7 separate regions of the Homo sapiens genome follow, and all the other regions are linked to region 1. Evidence: promoter capture Hi-C in 16 types of primary human blood cells and fetal thymus (Javierre and others, 2016). All regions are on one chromosome and are shown on one strand. The core of a region is centred on a gene start or on the middle of the fragment in contact, and the rest is flanking DNA. Distances in the headings are between cores, read along the strand shown. Region 1 holds the start of PLGRKT (plasminogen receptor with a C-terminal lysine). Region 2 overlaps CDC37L1 (cell division cycle 37 like 1, HSP90 cochaperone). Region 3 overlaps CDC37L1 (cell division cycle 37 like 1, HSP90 cochaperone). Region 4 overlaps AK3 (adenylate kinase 3). Region 5 has its middle 17 kb from the start of RCL1. Region 6 overlaps RCL1 (RNA terminal phosphate cyclase like 1). Region 7 overlaps RCL1 (RNA terminal phosphate cyclase like 1).

What was found. The method cuts DNA at HindIII sites, captures the fragments that hold promoters and counts their contacts. A CHiCAGO score of 5 or more calls a contact.
Region 2: a fragment that was not itself captured here is called in contact with the fragment with the promoter of PLGRKT in region 1 in 1 of 17 cell types (neutrophils); the score reaches 6.0 in neutrophils.
Region 3: a contact is called between a fragment that was not itself captured here and the fragment with the promoter of PLGRKT in region 1, in 1 of 17 cell types (erythroblasts). The highest score is 5.8, in erythroblasts.
Region 4: a fragment that was not itself captured here is called in contact with the fragment with the promoter of PLGRKT in region 1 in 1 of 17 cell types (erythroblasts); the score reaches 5.0 in erythroblasts.
Region 5: a fragment that was not itself captured here is called in contact with the fragment with the promoter of PLGRKT in region 1 in 1 of 17 cell types (neutrophils); the score reaches 8.3 in neutrophils.
Region 6: a fragment that was not itself captured here is called in contact with the fragment with the promoter of PLGRKT in region 1 in 1 of 17 cell types (neutrophils); the score reaches 5.6 in neutrophils.
Region 7: a contact is called between a fragment that was not itself captured here and the fragment with the promoter of PLGRKT in region 1, in 1 of 17 cell types (neutrophils). The highest score is 5.6, in neutrophils.

Annotation. Positions count from the first base shown.
Region 1 is chr9:5,436,617-5,439,268 of GRCh38, forward strand. PLGRKT (plasminogen receptor with a C-terminal lysine) reads right to left here and starts at 1,309. Exons shown (of 6, transcript NM_018465.4): 1 at 1,173-1,309; 2 at 1-78. RefSeq lists enhancers at 611-1,810, 866-955, 2,516-2,652. The HindIII fragment of the contact is 16,310 bases long and covers 1-2,652 here.
Region 2 is chr9:4,689,994-4,692,645 of GRCh38, forward strand. The region is part of intron 3 of CDC37L1 (cell division cycle 37 like 1, HSP90 cochaperone); the gene reads left to right. Among named protein-coding and RNA genes, the nearest start is that of CDC37L1, 12 kb to the left of the region's middle. The HindIII fragment of the contact is 398 bases long and covers 1,123-1,520 here.
Region 3 is chr9:4,707,029-4,709,680 of GRCh38, forward strand. It overlaps CDC37L1 (cell division cycle 37 like 1, HSP90 cochaperone), which reads left to right. Exons shown (of 7, transcript NM_017913.4): 7 at 1-1,371. AK3 (adenylate kinase 3) reads right to left here. Exons shown (of 5, transcript NM_016282.4): 5 at 2,528-2,652. Among named protein-coding and RNA genes, the nearest start is that of CDC37L1, 29 kb to the left of the region's middle. The HindIII fragment of the contact is 2,060 bases long and covers 308-2,367 here.
Region 4 is chr9:4,726,302-4,728,953 of GRCh38, forward strand. All of the region lies in intron 1 of AK3 (adenylate kinase 3), which reads right to left. Among named protein-coding and RNA genes, the nearest start is that of AK3, 14 kb to the right of the region's middle. The HindIII fragment of the contact is 170 bases long and covers 1,318-1,487 here.
Region 5 is chr9:4,775,047-4,777,698 of GRCh38, forward strand. No RefSeq gene overlaps it. Among named protein-coding and RNA genes, the nearest start is that of RCL1, 17 kb to the right of the region's middle. The HindIII fragment of the contact is 6,914 bases long and covers 1-2,652 here.
Region 6 is chr9:4,818,545-4,821,196 of GRCh38, forward strand. All of the region lies in intron 1 of RCL1 (RNA terminal phosphate cyclase like 1), which reads left to right. Among named protein-coding and RNA genes, the nearest start is that of RCL1, 27 kb to the left of the region's middle. The HindIII fragment of the contact is 7,813 bases long and covers 1-2,652 here.
Region 7 is chr9:4,835,137-4,837,788 of GRCh38, forward strand. The region is part of intron 5 of RCL1 (RNA terminal phosphate cyclase like 1); the gene reads left to right. Among named protein-coding and RNA genes, the nearest start is that of MIR101-2, 14 kb to the right of the region's middle. The HindIII fragment of the contact is 3,218 bases long and covers 1-2,652 here.

The DNA of each region.
Region 1 (2,652 bases), core at 59-2,558:
GTTAGAGGACGCTCCCAGGTGGAAGGGTTAAAGGTGGAAGCCAAGCAGGAAGAAGAGCTTCCTTATGGGAAACCACACCTGAGAATAAATAAATGCATCACACCTTGTAAATTTCACCCTGGAGTTCAGTATTTTCAACATTCTTTCCTTTCCCAACTTCCCCATTCCTGGCAAAGTCATTTCCCAAAGTCTGGGAATATTCCGTAGGGTGTCCAGAACACTTTCAGCTATCTCCTCTTGCTCACAAAATATGTATCAGAAAATAAGCAAAATTGACCTTGCAATAGGGATAACTTTGATTTCACTCACTTGTATAAGTTAAGTCTTTTAAAAATTCTAACACTTTTCACCAGGGGTAAAAAAAAATGTCTTGCTACTTATACAATTTTAAACATCACTGTGTCTCAGAGTGATGTTTTGCAGAGAATGCTGATTTCAATCCCTCTGTCTTCATTTTCCCTTTGATTCCTTCTGAGATCTTGGAAGGGGTCTTTAATGCTTCAGCCCTGCCTCAGGTGAGCTATAGATTACTATGGGAAGGTGTATTTCTGGGGAGGAGAAGTGGTGCCTGCAAGTTCCAGACAACCTTTCTTCCGGTCACCCGTGAGTACCTAGATTTGATTTTACTTGGGGGGACATAAAAAATTAATTGCATGAATTCTGTCATCGGGATTACCACGCTGACTTATTTCCCGATCAGATGACACATTGCCTGAATGTATGACTGATCGTCTCACCACAGTCATTTTCAATATTTGCATCCCATTGAAATTAAGCCACATCCCCTTGCAAATTCCAGCCCAGAGCCCACAGCTTCCGGAGGTTTTCTGTAATTAACACCGCCCTTGCTCCCTGAGGCCAGTTACTGTAATTTAGGTATTCCCCGCAATAGTGTGCTGATTTCTGTTGAGAGCACTGTGCCTGTTTTTCTCAACTCTATTTTAAAGCTACGGAGAGATCCGGAGTCCACGCCAGGCGACAAGAACGCGCTCTAATGGAACGAAGTTGGCAATACCTATCAGCACCAGGGGCAGTGCGAGAGCCAAGAGCCGGCGCTCACGAGGAGCGGGCGCCCAGCGCTGCCTGGCAAGCCCGGAGCCCAGGAGATCGCGCTGACTGACATGGCCGGGCTGACCCTTCTCCCCACCCGCCTGCGGCCGGTGTTCACTCACTGGGCGGCGCTGGTGCCGGGACCAGGCGACCGGTACGCAAACCTCCAGGCCCGGGCTCCTTTCGCCCGCTGCAGGGACCGGGCCTCGCTCCGCCCAGCGTCGGGATTGGCGCCCAGACACAGTAGATGACGCACCTCAGCCAATTCGCGCAGCCCTCAGCTTCTTTAAAGAGCCGGCACTTCCGCCAGAAGCCGGGTGTGTCCTTCCGGGCCAGGCTCAGTGTTACCAGAGGTGGGAGGGGAAGGTCAAAAGAGGCAAATTCAAAGCCGCGGCGACTCAGCTGCCAGATTTTTGAGATGAGGCAGAGGAAGCGGAGTGGAATTCTCAATTAAAGGCCTCTGTCCCCTCATCTGTTAAATTGGCACTATTAAAAAGTCATAAAGATAAGACAGAAACGAGAAAGAAGAGAATTGACTGAAATTACCCATTCTTTTTTGAACAGAGCCGTCTTTCTCCCCTGCTGCTCAGAGAGATGTCGGTCTCGCCTCAACCTCACCAGCAATTTCTATCTTGAATAAGCCACGTCTCTCTCCCAGCCTGAGAGAATGCTTGAATTGTTGGCACTCTGTTCTTTGCTACCAAATGGCTTGGAAAAATAGCATGAACGTCACCAGTCTCTGGCCTTCAGGAAAGTCCCTGCTAACCACCACAGCGGTGGAGAAGGCGTCTAACTTTCTCCAGGCTCAGCGTGTGAGTGCACACCGCCCTGACCTCCTGGGCGCGTCTTGATGCTCTCAACAGCAGCCCTCAGGATTCTGGACTGTGGGTCCCACATTCCAGATACCATTTGTGGAATGGCTGGATGAGAAAATTGCAACAGCACCCTCATTTCCAGTTAAGGGAATGGGCGGGTTACCAGGAGGTTTGACACTCTTGAAGGGAGGTTAACAACTGATGCAAGAAGTAAGGAATCGTGTTTGAGTGCACAGACTCTAGCATAAACACACCTACCTTCAATTTCTAGCTCTGTCACTGTCACTCTGAATTTATCACCTCTGCAACAGGACTAAAGCCATCTAATTTATTGGATTGTGAGGACTAAAAGATAATATATGTGGGCATTTAGCACAGTGTCGGGCACATAGTTCGCCTTCCGTAACCAGTAGTAACCAGTAACAGCGGGGAGCTGTTAGTAACTATAGGGCTGAGGGGTGGGGGAAGGAAGCAGTTACTAAAACCAGGCGAGAGCGAGAGCGGTAGCTGTGGCTGTACGAGAGAGTAACCAACTGGAACCGTGTCGTTCAGTAGAGGAAAGCAAGCAATGCCAACTTTTCACCAAGTAAGGTGAGATTCTATAGTTGTAGCCAGTGCTGAGACGTCAGCCCAAAGCAGGGACAGAGTGGAGAAGACCCACCTCTCTGTTCTCCCAGCTCTGATATCCAGCTGGGGTCTTCCGCTGGCTGGATCCACCAGGAAGCCAGAAGACAGTGGAGCTAGGTCTGTGTAGTCTGTAGAGGTCAGCCTACTAGGCACAATGCCT
Region 2 (2,652 bases), core at 72-2,571, 750 kb before region 1:
TCACTTTTGCTGTAAGCTGAGTGCCTTGTTCAGAAGCAATTTTGTGTAGGAAAATATCCAAATATCACAAAGTGTTGTAACCCATCTGGCACTATGTATCTTCAGCATTTTATAAAACCTGCTTCTGGGTAGTGATGTTCGTGATGAGAACAGTGAATTTCATGAACCCTACAGTCTTCATTTCTTTTGCTGTAAAATGAGTTTCTGGGTCAAAAAATAGTGTGGTATGGTGAATAATTCATTTAGTAAGACTACAGATGTATTACTGATTAGAAGCATGGCAAGGAGGGAGGGCACTTCCACATCTAGAGTGGGCTCGTTCAAGTGAGGAATTACCAGTCCCTCTGAGATGAAGTGGGACCAGGGTAGTCAACCTGCTACTTGATGGCTGGCTGATCTCTGCAGTGCATTGTGCCGTATTGAGATTTTGGTGTTTTTCGCTACTAGTAAATTAGGTGTTCAGTGGCTAAACTGGATTAGGATACTAGAACATCCTTGAGGGGAGAGTCTACACTGTCGAATCTATGCATAATCACAAACCTATGCCACCACGACCCCTGAATTTATGAAACTATTGTGCAAATAATGAGATAGTTGAGGAAAAAAACTGACTTAACATCCACAGGTGATTAATAAGCAATCATTTTGCTGTTACGTGTTGTGAACTTCCAATATACTATCTTGTAATAAATATCAGAGCCTTGCTGTTTTCACACCCAGCCAGACCAATAGCCATTCCCAGAGTCACAATGTGCCTGTTTCTTACTGAAAATGCATGTTGTCTTTAACTTCAAAGGAGATATATTACTTGCCACAGCACACTGGATCCCCAGGAATGTTACAAAGGTAGTAGGCTCTCAAAATGTTCATGTGTTTTATTTCCCACTCTGGAATAGATATATCTTAACAAGAGACCTGGAATACCTGCAATTTCTGCTTTACCAAGTTCCATCAGTGGAGAGTGGACCAACTTGTAGTCATGGGGAATGATGAGATAATAATCCCTGTGGACTGAATTATGGCACAGAGTTGATAGAGGTGTGACACAAGACAGTGAAAATTTGTGGCTATGCCTGCTTGATGGAAGATTTCTGTTGTATGCTTATTGTGATGAAAGAAGAAAGCTTACCAAAATGATGACTATATTGGTATACTCCTTTATTTTGTTTTTTTGTTGTTGTTTAACTTTTGTTTTAAATTCAGGGGTACATGTGCAGGATGTGCAGGTTTGTTACATAGGTAAGCGTGTGTCTTGGGGATTTGTTGTACAGATTATTACATCACCCAGGTATTAAGCCTAGTATTCATTAGTTATTTTTCCTGATCCTCCCACCCTCCGCCCTTCGGTAAACTCCAGTGTGTGTTGTTCCCCTTTATGTGTGCATGTATTCTCATCATTTAGCTCCCGCTTATAGGTGAGAATATGCGGTATTTGGTTTTCTGTTCCTTTGTTAGTTTGCTTAGGATAATGGCTTCTGGTATACTCTTCTAAACACATCTGCAATAGGAGATGTAATTAAAGCTTCCAGTTGGAGGCTTTCTGGACTTGGATTGCATTCTGGACTCTTGGTTGACACGGGCCTGGTGTGTGTGGGGGCTGTATAGGGCTATAGGGGCTTTACACCCATGTTTCTCTGTGGTCTTATTTGTACTTATATTCTTCAGAGTTTTTCCTAACTTTTCCCTTATACAATTTGTTGACTGCCTTTCTTGTGCTGCTTTTACCCTTACAATTAGGTGGAATTTACCACCTAGTGGTAAATGGTACAATATATCATGGACTATTATAAAGCATTGAAATCTGACTTTTTCCTCTACATTTGTATTTAGTTTATTAATTTAGTTAATTCACGTTTTATAAATATAAAATATTAATTTAAAAACAAAGGCTTTTATCTCTTAAATTTCACAACCGTTATATTCACAGTTATATGCATGTTTGACATCACTGGCTTTATGGTCATCAGAGCTGCTTTTTGAGTCATCTAATTTTCAGAGCACATCATCTTCACTTTCAGCCAAAGTTAGCTGTGATTCAGCTTTTTTTAATCTGTGTAGGATGTTGTCACTGGAAATTTTACCAAGAGCTATAAAAGTTTGCTCAAATACTATGATAGAAGTTTTTTCGTTTGTTCTGACTATGAATATTTACAACCTCTTCAATGTAATTGTTCATTGCTTTTAAAAAACATATCAATATCTTATTTTTGAAAAACATTTAATATAAAGCACTCTTACATATGAAGTGAAATGAATAGAAAATGTATATGATTTTAATGTTTTTTTTTTTTTTGAGACGAAATCTCGCTCTTGTCCCCCAGGCTGGAGTACAGTGGTGTGATCTCAGCTCACTGCAACCTCCGCCTCCCGGGTTCAAGCGTTCCTGCTGCCTCAGCCTCCCGAGTAGCTGGGATTACAGGCGCCTGCTACCACGCCTGGCTAATTTTTGTATTTTTAGTAGAGATGGGGTTTCACCATGTTGGCCAGGCTGGCCTTGAACTCCTGACCTCAAATGATCCGCCCGCCTCGGCCTCTCAAAGTGCTGGGATTACAGGCGTGAGCCACCACTCTGAGCCTTAATTTTGGTTTTTTAAAAAGTCATTCAAAAATATGCCTGGAAGGAAATACATCAAAATGTTAACAGTAATCTCT
Region 3 (2,652 bases), core at 88-2,587, 730 kb before region 1:
AAAGGAGTCTTAAAAATGATTTTTTTTTTAAAGGCAAGAGAAATCTTGTAGTGCTAACTGCCTTGAGCTGCCAATTACCTATTTCTGAGAATTTGGTGACTCTTATTGGTAATGATGGCATTTACAACATTTGGCATTTCCCCTTTTTCAGCTCAGTTACCATAGAATACTTCCAAGCTTTACTACTTCCTCTGTAAGTCATTTCAGTTATGCCAGGATATTTGATGATTTTGTTTATGTAGAATTAGGTAACAAAGCCAATTATGCTATCCTTATTATTGAAGGATTAATCTTATGACTTAACATAAGCTTTGGTTATATTTGGGTGTAGTCTTTGGCTAAGTACCCATTAAGGCTAGTAGCAAACACTTGGAAGGTGGCTAACTGGGACTGGGAATACGTGTCTCAACTTGAGAAACCAAATAGTGCGAAGGGACTCAGGGTGGCCAGACCTGTGACCTTGGCCTCATTTGTATCTTGTTTTCGCTGAGGTGATCAGACACTTAGTACCCTAGAAATGGACTGGAATTATTGAATCTTCTTCTGTAACATCACAATCTTCCTGGTTTTCAGAATAAACGTTTTTGTGCTTTTGATATAAATATATACTCTATAATAAAATGTTTGACTAATTTATATAGTAGTGTTTGTCAGCCTGTACTTTTTTTTTTTTTAAACCCATGACCTAGTCGTAGACATTTTTTTCTTTTTGTTCTGTTCTGAAGCAAGCTCTTATTTTTCCCTTTCTACCAAATTGAGAGAATGGGCAGACACAGGAGCCATATTCCTAGTTTCACAGAAATGTTACTTGAATTATTATTTTCCCTTCTTTCCCAGGATTTGCCTGTAAGCATTCAAATTGTTTTGAATTTCATTTTGCCTTCTCTAAGTTAGAGGTATTTAATGACTGAAGACTGGCAGGAGAGAAAGTATCAACAAACTGAGTAAACTATTCTTGAGGGGCACTGAAAAGATGTTCTTTGAAACTTGATTTATATATTTTTACTTGCAAAAGAATATACTGTGTTTTGAGTATGAAAGTGTGATTGGGTCTGTTGTGGGAACCACTGACTGATGCCATAATTTGCACTTAAAGGCTATAAATTACATAGTTAGCCGTACTTTAGTACTAGAAACAGTAAATTGACATCCTTGAACTAATTCCTACCTTTTTTTTGTTTCTGAAGAAATAAAGAGTATATTAAGCAAAGGGATAATTTATATTTCAGGTTGGACAATTTACCCTAAACAAATTAAACCATGGAAAGTGCAAACACATGAATGAAACATTTTTTTACATCAAAGTATCATCAAAGATTCTTGTTTCATTTGATAAAATTAATATTTGAATAAAAAAATTTTTAAATCAAATAGCTGTCCATTTATTCTCTGTTAACTCAGTGTCATTTTTTCAGTGGTAGTGAAGATAATACTGCCTTAAAATTATTACTCTTAGGTAGATGGGTAACATTCTCTTCCAATTATACCATTAGTGAGCTCTTTCAAATTTTGCCTAATGAGCTCACAATCTCTTATAACTTCTCTTTAGGAAAATCAGGTCCTCCTCTTCTTTCAGACTGGCATATCATATTATTACCCTTTTAAAAATGAATGAACAGCCGGGCGCAGTAGCTTACGCCTGTAATCCCGGCACTTTGGGAGGCCGAGGCGGGTGGATCCTGAGGTCAGGAGATCGAGACCATCCTGGCCAACATGGTGAAACCCTGTCTCTACCCAAAATACAAAAATTAGCTGGGCATGGTGGCGCGTGGCTGTAGTCCCAGTTACTCAGGAGGCTGAGGCAGGAGAATCGCTTGAACCCCGGGAGGCAGAGGTTGCAGTGAGCCAAGATGGCGCCACTGCACTCCAGCCTGGCAACATCTAAAAATGAAAATGAACATGCTGCCCAAAGAACATGAATCTGTTTTAGTAAGTGGATTTTCTAACAGGATGAAAAAAGTTGACTGTAGGTTTAGGCAAGGTGATCCTGAAGTTAACCTTTGGGTATTTTCAGAGGAGAACGAAATGTCAGTTTACTTTTCTAAGTCAATCATGTATTTCAGTTCTTAAATTGGTGTGGGACAGAACCGAGGTACTTGTCTGGGTTGAGGTTGGGCTTTCCATTTCATGGGCTTTCCATTTCAATTTTGCCATTATAGCAAACATACTTTTAACAAAACCCTTAAATCCATCCATCTCTCATCTGTAATGGACATGTATATACAATTGCATAGTTCTGAGAAGTTGATTTATCTGAAAATTATTTGCTCACTATGTGAGCCAAGGGGGTCGGGAGGGGGACACAGGGTGAATATAAGTTCATTATGGATTGTTCACCATCTAATATGAAGTGAAACCATTCTCATAAGCTTTGAAGAATTAGACTTGTTTGATCTCTAAATATAGAAAATGATTATTAAAATTCCCACATCTTTCACACAGTTAACAGCATGATTCTTCATGTTATTTACACATCAGACATTTAACTTGGAATGCTTTAGAAAAAGATGACACAGTGCTGGACTGATTTACACTTAGGCATGACAGTTTATTCAGTGCTATATATGGAAAAATCAGTGTTTATATTATTTAGTGAGCTAAAAACAAATAAAAAGCAGGAGGGGGATAAGGGCTCTACAAAGCATACTGGCT
Region 4 (2,652 bases), core at 153-2,652, 710 kb before region 1:
TTCTCTGTAGCATGCAGTGTTGTGTGATAGTATTTTATCCACAGTAGAACTTCTTTCAAAACTGTAGTCTATCCTCTCAGACCCGCTGCTCCTTTTTCAACTAAGTTTAAGTCATATTCTAAATCCCTCGTTGCCAGTTGAATAATGCTCACAGCATCTTCACCAGGACTAGATTCTACCTCAAGAAACCACGTTCTTTGCTCATTCATTAAAAGCAACTCCTCATCCATTCAAGTTTTATGAGATTGCAGCAATCCAGTTACATCTTCAGGCTGCACTTCTAATTCTAGTTCTCTTGCTATTTCCACCATATGTGTAGTTACTTCCTACACTGAAGGCTTGAACCCCTTAAAGTCATCCATGAGGGTTGGAATCAACTTCTTCCAAACTCCTGTTAATGTTGACACTTTGACCTTCTTCCTGAATCATGAGTGTTCTTCCTGGCATCTAGAATGGCGCATCCTTTCCCTAAGTTTTTCTATTTACTTTGCCCAAATCCATCAGAGGAATCACTATCTATATAGCAGCTGAACCTTATGAAATGTGTTTTTTAAATAACAAAACTTGAGAGTTGAAATTACTCCTTGATGCGTGGGCTACAGAATGGATGTTGTGTCAGCAGGCATGAAAACAACATGAATTTCCGTGTACATCTCCAGCAGAGCTTTTGGGTGACCAGGTGCATTGTCAATGAGCAGTAATACTTTCAAACGAATCTTTTTCTCTCAACAATAGTTCTCAACAGTGGGCTTCAAATAGTCAGTAAACCATGCTATAAACCGATGTGCTGTCATCCAGGCTTTGTCATTCCATTTACAGAGCACAGGCAGGGTAGATTTAGATAATTCTCAAGACCCTCGGATTTTTGGAATGGTAAATGAGCATTGGCTTCAACTTAAAGTCACCAGCTGCATTAGTCCCTAGCAAGAGAGTCAGCCTGTCCTTTGAAGCTTTGAAGTCAAGCATTGACTTCTCTTCTCCAGCAATGGAAGTCCTAGATGGCATCTTTTTCCAATAGAAGGCTGTTTCGTTTACATTGAAAATCTGTTAGTGTAGACACCTTCATCAATGATCTTAGCTAGATTTTCTGGATACCTTGCTGCAGCTTCTACATCAGCACTTGCACTTTCCTGTTATAGAGACGGCTTCTTTCCTTAAACCTCATGAACCAACCTCTGCTAGCTTCAAATTTTTATTCTGCAGCTTCAACACATCTCTCAGCCTTCACTGAAATGAAGAGAATTAGGGCCTTGCTCTGGACTGGGCTTTGGCTTAATGGATGATGTGGCTGGTCTGATCTTCTTTCTAGACCACTCAAGCTTTCTCCATATCAACAACAAGGTTGTTTTGCTTTCTTGTGCTCCAGTGTTTACTGGAGCAGCACTTTTAATTTCCTTCAAGGTCTTCCTTTGCACTTACAACTTGGCTAACTGGTGCAAGAAGCCTGGTTTCAGCCTGTCTTGGTTTTCAGCATGCCTTCCTCACTAAGCTTAATCATTTCTAGCTTTTGATTTAAAGTGAGAGATGTGCCACTCTCTTCCTTTAACTTGAACACTTAGAGGCCACTGTAGGGTTATTAGTTGGCCTAATTTCAATATTGTTGTGTCTCAGGGAATAGGGAAGCTCGAGGAGAGAGAGACAAGGGAATGGCTGGTTAGTGGAACAGTCAGAACACACATAACATTTATCAATTAAGTTTGCCATCTTATATGGGTATAGTTCATGGCACCCCAAAACAATTATAATAGTAACATCAAAGATCACTGATCACAGATCACTTTAACAGATATAATAATAATGAAAATATTTTAAATATTGCAAAAGTTACTAAAAATGTAAAATAGAAATGGGAAGTGCGTACTTGTTGGGAAAATGGGGCCAATAGCCTTGCTTGACACAGAGTTGCCACAAAACTTAGATTTGTAAAAAAAGATACAGTACCTGTGAAGCACAATAAAACAACATATGCCTTTAAAAACAAGTGTTAGGCCAGGCACAATGGCTCATGCCTGTAATCCCGGCACTTTGGGAGGCCGAGGCAGGCGCATCACTTGAGGTCAGGAGTTCGAGACCAGCCTGACCAAAATGGTGAAACCCTGTCTCTACTAGTAATACAAAAATTAGCTGGGTGTGGTGGTGCATGCCTGTAGTCCCAGCTACCTGGGAGGCTGAGGCAGGAGAAGTGCTTGAACCTGGGAGGCGGAGGTTTCAGTGACCTGAATAGCTGCCACTGCACTCCAGCCTGGGCAACAGAGTGAAACTGTGTCTCAAACAAAAAAATAAATAAAAACAAGTGTTGGTAAGAATGTGGAGAAACTGTAACCCTCATATATTGCTGGTAGCATTATAAAATGGTGTAGCCAATTTGTAAAACAGTGTGGTAGTTTTTTTAAAGGTTGAACACAGTTACCAAGCCCTGTGTGGTGATTCACACCTGCAATCCCAGCACTTTGGGAGGCCAAGGAAGGAGTTTCACTTGAGGCCAGGAGTTCAAGACCAGCCTGGGCAACACAGCAAGACCATGTCTCTACATATATATATATATATATATATATATATATATATACACACACACACACACATACATATATATACACATACTTATATATATACATACATATAAATATATACATACATATATACATACATATA
Region 5 (2,652 bases), core at 43-2,542, 660 kb before region 1:
AATGTGCAGGTTTGTTACATATGTATACATGTGCCATGTTGGTGTGCTGCACCCATTAACTCGTCATTTAGCATTAGGTACATCTCCTAATGCTATCCCTCCCCACTCTGTGGCACATAGACACCATGGAATACTATGCAGCCATAAAAAATGATGAGTTCATGTCCTTTGTAGGGACATGGATGAAGCTGGAAACTATCATTCTCAGCAAACTATTGCAAGGACAAAAAACCAAACACCGCATGTTCTCACTCATGGGTGGGAATTGAACAATGAGAACACATGGACACAGGAAGGGGAACATCACACACCGGGGCCTGTTGTGAGTAGAACTTTTGAAATGCTTCATGGGGCTTGAAAACGATTTGGTCTTTGTCCTCTTAAGTTGTTTCAGTATTACTGCAGTTAGAGGACAAAAGTCCCCAGAGGAAGATGTAGTCCTAACTCAATGTAAGGAAAAGGCATACTTCTGAGATGAACACTAACAAGAATCCATGTATCATGGACTGGGTTGGGTTTCTAATACAGAGATTTGCAACAGGTATGGATTCCAGATGTGTGGAAATATTAAAGGTCTTCTCTTTGGGATGGCGAGGCAGAGTCTTGGGGTGGTCAGACTCTTAAGCCTGCTGTCTTTGGTGATGAGCATCCTCACTCTTCTACTCGAGAGTGCTTACAAATATTATTATATTATCTGTGTGGTTGAGAAGCACTGGCCAGAGCAATGGTTTCTATATTCTTCAGACTGATGCTGATCTGTGAACAAGTCTTCACCAGCCTAGAGAAAAATGATAAAAATGTGAACATGTAGTGAGGTTTGCATAAATCTAAATGTATTCAATTCAAAGGGCTATATTGTATTTTGAAATTATGTCCTTTTTTTGAGAGAGAAAGTTTTTGGTCAATGAAAAATACACAGAAATCTCATTTATCACCTGTCAGACTGGCAAACATATGAACGTTAAACAGTATACTTTTTTAGTGACATTGTGGAAAAAGAGGTAATTTCCTATGTTGCAGGTGAGAATGCAAAATGATTTGACTTATATTGTGATGGTTTATTTTATGTGTCAGCTTGACTGGGTTAATGGATGCCCAGATAACATTATTGGCCCGGCATGGTGCCTCATGTCTGTAATCCCAGCACTTTGGGATGCTGAGGCAGGCAGATTGCTTGAGCTCAGGAGTTTGAGACCAGCCTGGACAACATGGTGGAACCTCGTCTCTACAAAAAATACAAAAAAATTATTAATAGCTGGGCATAGTGACACATGCCTGTAGTCCCAGGTACTTGGGAGGCTGAGGTGGGCGAATTGCTTGATCCCAGGAGGTCAAGGCAGCAGTGAGTCAAGATTGTGCCACTGCACTCCAGCATGGACAACACAGCAAGACCCTGTCTCAACAACAGCAGCATTATTTATGAGTGTGTCTGTGAGAATGTTTCCAGAAGAGACTAACATTGGAATTAGTAGACTAAGTAAAGAACATCTCCCTCACCAATGTGGGTGGGCCTCATCCAATGCGCTGAGGACCCAAATAGAACAAAAGGTCACAGGAAAGACAAATTTGATCTTTCACGCTTGAGCTAGGCTAACCATCTTCTCCTGCCCTTGGACCTTTGAGCCTCCGGCTGTCAAACCTTCAGACGTGGACTAAACTACACCATTGGCCTTTCTGGGAATCTAGCTTGCAGATAGCTTATGGTGGAGGAAGACATCCAACAAGGAAAGGAATGACCTACCTGAATTCAAAGCTCCCAGGCATGCCATGCCAAGCACATGTTTAAAGTTTAAAAAATTCTAAGAAAACCTCCTTCTTGTCTCTCACCAGCAGTGAAATTGTTCAGTCCTCTGAACAGACATTTAATTTACCATGAGGTGGGGTACAGTGGCTCATGCCTGTAATCTCAGCTACTCGGGAGGCTGAGGCAGGAGGACTGTTTGAGGCCAGGAGTTTGAGACCAGCCTGGGCAATATAACAAGATCCATCTTCAAAAAATATAACAAGAATTAGCTATGCACGATGGCGTGTGCCTGTAGTACAAGCTACTTGGGATCGCATGAGCCCAGGAGTTTGAGGCTGCAGTGAGCTATCATTATGACACTGCACTCCAGCCTGGGTGACAGAGCAAGACCCCAGCTCTGAATAAATAAATAAAGCAGTGATCTTGCTATATCTAGTCTCCCTAGGCAGCAGAGAACAGAAAGGCACTAATAAAATATGCTCAGGACAAAATTTACTCTTCTATACTTTATATAAGATTACAGATAATAACTTTTATTATCAGTATAACTACCAATATGATACTCTTATTTTGAACATAACTTTCTTTCTTTTAAACGTTATTTTGAACTTTATTTTGAACATTCTTTGTCTTTATTTTGAACTTTCTTTCTTTTGAACTTTCTTTTTTTTTGAACTTTCTTTCTTTTGATCTTTCTTTCTTTGAACATTTTTTCTTTCTTTATTTTGAACTTTCTTTCCTTCTTTTTTTATTTGCCTCAGACTCCCAGGTGGATTATAGGCACCTCCCACCATGCCCGGATAATTTTTGTATTTTTTTGTAGAGGCGGGGTTTCGCTATGTTGGCCAGGCGGGTCTCGAACTCCTGACCTCAGGTGATCTGCCCACCTCGGCCTCCCAAAGTGTTGG
Region 6 (2,652 bases), core at 62-2,561, 620 kb before region 1:
CATGTTAACAGCTCACTGTCTTGTCTTCTGGTTATTCGCTAAAGAAATTGAAATCCGGCCGGGCTAGGTGGCTCACGCCTGTAATCCCAGCACTTTGGGAGGCTGAGGCAGGCGGATCACGAGGTCAGGAGATCAAGACCATCCTGTCCGGCATGGTGAAACCCTGTCTCTACTAAAAATAGCTGGACATGGTGGCACGTGCCTGTAGTCCTAGCTACTCGGGAGGGTGAGGCAGGAGAATTGGTTGAACCCTGGAGGCGGAGGTTGTAGTGAGCTGAGGTCTTGCCAGTGCACTCCAGCCTGGGCAACGCAGCAAGACTCTGTCTCAAAAAAAAAAAAAAAAAGAAAAAGAAATTGAAATCACATTATATATATAACTTTTAAACTTTTCCTCACATAATTAAATAATTATTTTAAAAGCATTTCTTAGGGGCACATGGTATTATAAAGATCTGTCATAGGCCATTTAATGAAAACAGTTTTGTTGGCTATTTAAATCATGTTGGAATATCTTTGTTTTGTTTATAATTTAAATTTTGTGTATTTTAAGAAATATGCACATGACACAAAATTCAAAGGGAATAAAAGGGTTTATAGAGCAGGGGTCCTCAACCCCAGACAGGGCAGGGTTGGCAGAATGGTTGAAGGATGAAACTGTTCCACCTCAGATCGTCAGGCATTAGAGTCTCACACGGAGCCAGCAGCCTCGATCCCTTGCATGTGCAGTTCACAATAGGGTTCATGGTCCTATGAGAATCCAATGCCATCACTGATCTGATCTATGAAACTGGACCCTGGTGCCAAAAGGTTGGAGAGTGCTGGTTTAGAGAATCTTTGAATTAAACAGTGTTACTAGTTTGTTGTTTTTTTCCCCAGGCTTTTTCTTTTTCATAAATAAGCAAATATATGTACATATATGTACACTTGTTCTTTATCCGCAGAAATGGTCACTATCAATGTACACTATCTGGTGATGGTACATTAAAAACAGAATTTGCTCACGCCTGTAATCCCAGCACTTTGGGAGGTCGAGGCGGGGGGATCATGAGGTCAGGAGATTGAGACCATCCCGGCCAACATGGTGAAACCCCATCTCTACTGAAAATACAAAAATTAGCTGGGCGTGGTGGCACGCGCCTGTAGTCCCAGCTACTCGGGAGGCTGAGGCAAGAGAATCGCTTGAACCCGGGAGGCGGAGGTTGCAGTGAGCCAAGATCGCGCCACTGCACTCCAGCCTGGTGACAGAGCGAGACTCCGTCTCAAAAACAAAACAAAACAAAACACAGACTTTATCAACTTTACCACTACTCAATATATCCATGTAATACAACTACACTTGTGCCCACCAAATTTGTACAAATAAAAAAATGCATAAGATATAAAAGTAGTGCATAAGAGATCGTAAAATGAACACCTTTGTGACCCCCCCATCCACAAAAAGAAATATAACTTTGCTAACATCTGTACATCTTTTAGCTATTTACAGCTCCTTGCCATGCCTCTACTGGTAGCCACTATCCTCACCATTATAGCATTGACTTTGATTCTCTTTATAGTTTTATAACCTAATTATGTATTCATAAACAGTGTAGTAAAATTGTGCTTGTTTTTGGAGCTTTTCCCTGAACGTTTTGAGATACCTGAAATCTTGTAGCCCCAGGAGCAGTCTTGAAGAAGAGGAGTCAGCAGGGTGTGTGGGAGGTGAATGGGCAAGGAATTCTACACAGGTTGGCCTAGTAAAGTTTGGGGACTTTGATCTTACCATTATTAGGTGGACTTGAGATCTTTTCTTGTACCAGGTGATGGAGTCATATCTTCACTGTTGCCAGGGCTCCGGAACTAGCTCTGAGTCTGCTTCTTTGAAGTGCTGCTTCTGAAGCACCGGTTTGCCGTGATCAGGGATGGTCCTGCCTGGAGTTCTCTTTATGCCCATTCTCTTTCTACTTTTGTTCTGCTGGGCGTTTCTGGTTTTGTTTGTGTGTAAGAGTCCGTGTGGATTGCAAAAAACAAAATCTAGAAAGTAAAGTCATGGTTTCTTCCTTTTTTCTTTTCTAATTTGTAAAAATCTGTGGGGTTTAATCTTAGGCTTTATTTGTAGGTGCTTGTTCCTCTATCCCATTTAGACACTTAGAAAGTTTGAACAAATCAAGGGCTTTCCTTTTTTCTGCAGAGCACGTTAGATTTTCTATAAACCTAAGTAGAAAGTGGCATTGTGGTAGAGATTGTGCCTGATTTGTAAAGAATGTTAAAAAGATCGTAGAAATAATTTCTAATTCAATTCCGTCGTTCAGATACTTTCAAACTCCTGTGATGCTACTTACATCACAACCTATTACACATACACATATGTGTAAAACAGACTGAAGTTTCACGAACAGCATCCTTAGTATATACAGTTATTCCAACGTAGTTTATTCTGTTCTAATTTTTTTTAATGTTGATTAGAGATCCATTAAATTAACTATAAGATCCTTCAAGAGATCAGTGCCTATAGTTGAAGGTACCATGATTTTCTAGAGGAAGAGGTTAGCTCCAAGGAATTAAACTGAACAGAGGCAAACTAGTGTCGTGGTGTGGCTAAGAGTGTGGAACCTTTAGGTTGTGTGTAGTAGCTTATGCCTGTAATCCCAGCGTTTGTGAGCCTGAAGCAGG
Region 7 (2,652 bases), core at 94-2,593, 600 kb before region 1:
CATTTGATGGTAGAATGGGGCATGAAGACAGGCAGGGGCCAGTGAAGAGCTGAAGGTGGCTGGAATCAGATACTATGCAGAACGCAAAGAAAGGAGGGTGGAACCCTGTGAGGCCACCAAAACTTGAAAGCAAGAGTTAAGTAAGGAGGGAAGTAAGAGTGGGGAAGAGAATAAACAAAACATAGCTTCCTGGAAGCTCAGGTCAGCACTTTAAAAGGCCCTGAGGAGTTAGCATTGGGGTGGGGGAAAAGCTGAGGGACTCAGCAGCAGGCTGTCACTGATGCCCTGGGGAAGAGTGCTGGATCCCTATCCCAAGGGACTAATTCTGGGTTGTGGAGTGAAGGGGAGGGAAACAGCGGCTTGTGGGGACCACTCTTTACAGAACCTTGACAGGAAAGAGAAGGAGAAGGAAGGATGAGGGAGTAACTTGATGAAGCGAGAGTCAGGGAGACTCCCTCCCTTTTACAAAAAGATTGGTAAGGATTTGAGTGTTTTTGTAGGTTGTTAATGTAGATGAAGCAAAGTAATGAGCTGATTAAAAGCCCAGGTGCTGGAGTCAGAAAGACGTGGGTGCCGACGCCGGCTGCGCCACTTACCAATGGAAGCATTTGGCCGTAAGCCTTGGTTGCCCGTATATCTTTAGTCCTGTTATAACTGCTGTGCGAGACTGTCATGAAGGTAAAATGAGATCGTAGTTGCACAGTAGGAGGCACTGGTGTGTAAGTAGCATTGGGTAAATGGTTACTACTATTCTTTTTATTCTTACTTGAGAGGGGATGGATTCAAGGCCACAGGCATACGGTAAGGGTGGCTCCAGGTAGAGCTGTGTGGAGGTGAGTGGAAGGGGGTTGGGATGAGTTTTCAGTTGTTACCGAGTTAGGATGGGATTGAGGGTAAGGGGATGGGCGGGGTAGGATAAGAGAGTGTGACAAGGATGGTAAAGATGTGCCTTCACAGGGGAGCATCATAACTGAAGATAAGAAAAAGGCTGTGTTCCAGCAGTAAGGTCCTTGCTGAAGGTGTAATGTTAACACAGTGCCAGCTGCATGGCCATGTGGCTATATCCAGTGGCAGTTGGCAGCCTAGAGGGAGGAGTAGAGAACGTGGGAGGACCAATTTCATCCAAGGTTGGATGCAGGTTGGCAAGGTGGGTGGGTCCTACAGGAGGACAGTTGGAGGGTGGGTGCTGGAGCATTGGGAAGTACATTCCTCACTGAGGATTGTCACAGGGGCTCACCAGCCTGGACAAAGCAGGTCAAGGGATGAGAAACTTTAACAGGCTTAAAGATCAGATCTAGTGGAAATAGATACATGTACTGTGTAGGACAAGAGATTGTGTTTAGGGAGTTTTGTTTTGGGATTTCAGATATTAAAAGTGGTAAAATTCTAGGTGCTGACAGGATCTGGGTGGGAGCAGGTGTTGGAGGCCGTAGAGCAAGACAGGCTGTGGGATGACTTTCCTGGCGGGAGTGTGACAAGGAGGGCAGACCAGAAAGCCTGCTTGTCAGGGCGGGGGTGGGTGCTTAAGGTCGGGTTTTGTGTTCTCAGGAGGTTTGGCAATGGTATTACTTGGAGGAAGAAAGGTGTAGCGTGGACTGTCTTTTCAGAGGCCTCGAATAGCTTGAACAGTAAGTGGTGAAGGGCAGGGAGTAGGGTGGGCTGCAGAGCCATGTGCAGAGAGAGTGCTGGTTAAGATAGAAGCTCAAACTTGGGTTGCTGCCTGAAGTTCTTTTTAAGGATCATCAAAACCACAGGAATACATAATAACAAAGCCTTCCTGGGTTATGGTCTGTTCTCTGCATGGCTGTCCCCCAGCCCATGTAAGCGCCCAGCCTTGTGTGTACCAGGAGAGAACAGGCAAAAGGAGAAATGGTTCCTTTCCTAGGAGCCCCCAGGTTGATGCATAGTTACATTGCCCAGGTGACTTTCTAAGGTGATATTCAACTCTAGTATCCAAATCCGAGGAGCTGGAATAAGGTTAATTAGGTTACAAAGAAATGGAAATGCAATGTAACTAGGTGTGTGTTTTTGAAACCAAATGTGCCTTTTCTACTTGAATTCATTCTTATTAACAGATGCATTGTATTCCACCATATATAGAACCCAAAATCAAATCCTGTTGATGGCCATTGAGTTGTTTTTTGCTTTTCACTGTTGCCAAATACACTGCGGTTAATGGCTTTAACCACAACATTTTTGGCAATGGTGAAAAAAAGTGTAATAAGTGTATAGGAATACACTTTCCAATACATTCCAATAAGTGTACAGGAATACACTTTCAGTACTATTTTGGGTTTGTCTGGGGGGTAGTTGTTTTTTTTCCTCCTTATTTGAGATGTGTTTCCTTAATGCTGTATTGGCGGCCGTGAACTTTGTTTGGAATCCAGTCTCTGTAGTCTGGAAATGTGATTTCTGGCAGTGTGCTCTGTTTTGACACAATCTTGTCATAACAACATGGGTTTCATCACAGTGGGGTCCCCCTTGTTCTCTCTGGGTGTGCAGATGGTCGTGTCCTTTGATGATGATGCTGGGAAATGGGGAAGGGCTTTCCAGGGGAGAACATAAAAGTTAAAAGAGCTGTAGTGCCGGGCACCTTGGGTGTAACTATGTTCCTCCCTGGCTTCTCCCTCTAATGTTCTTGGAACCTTCCCT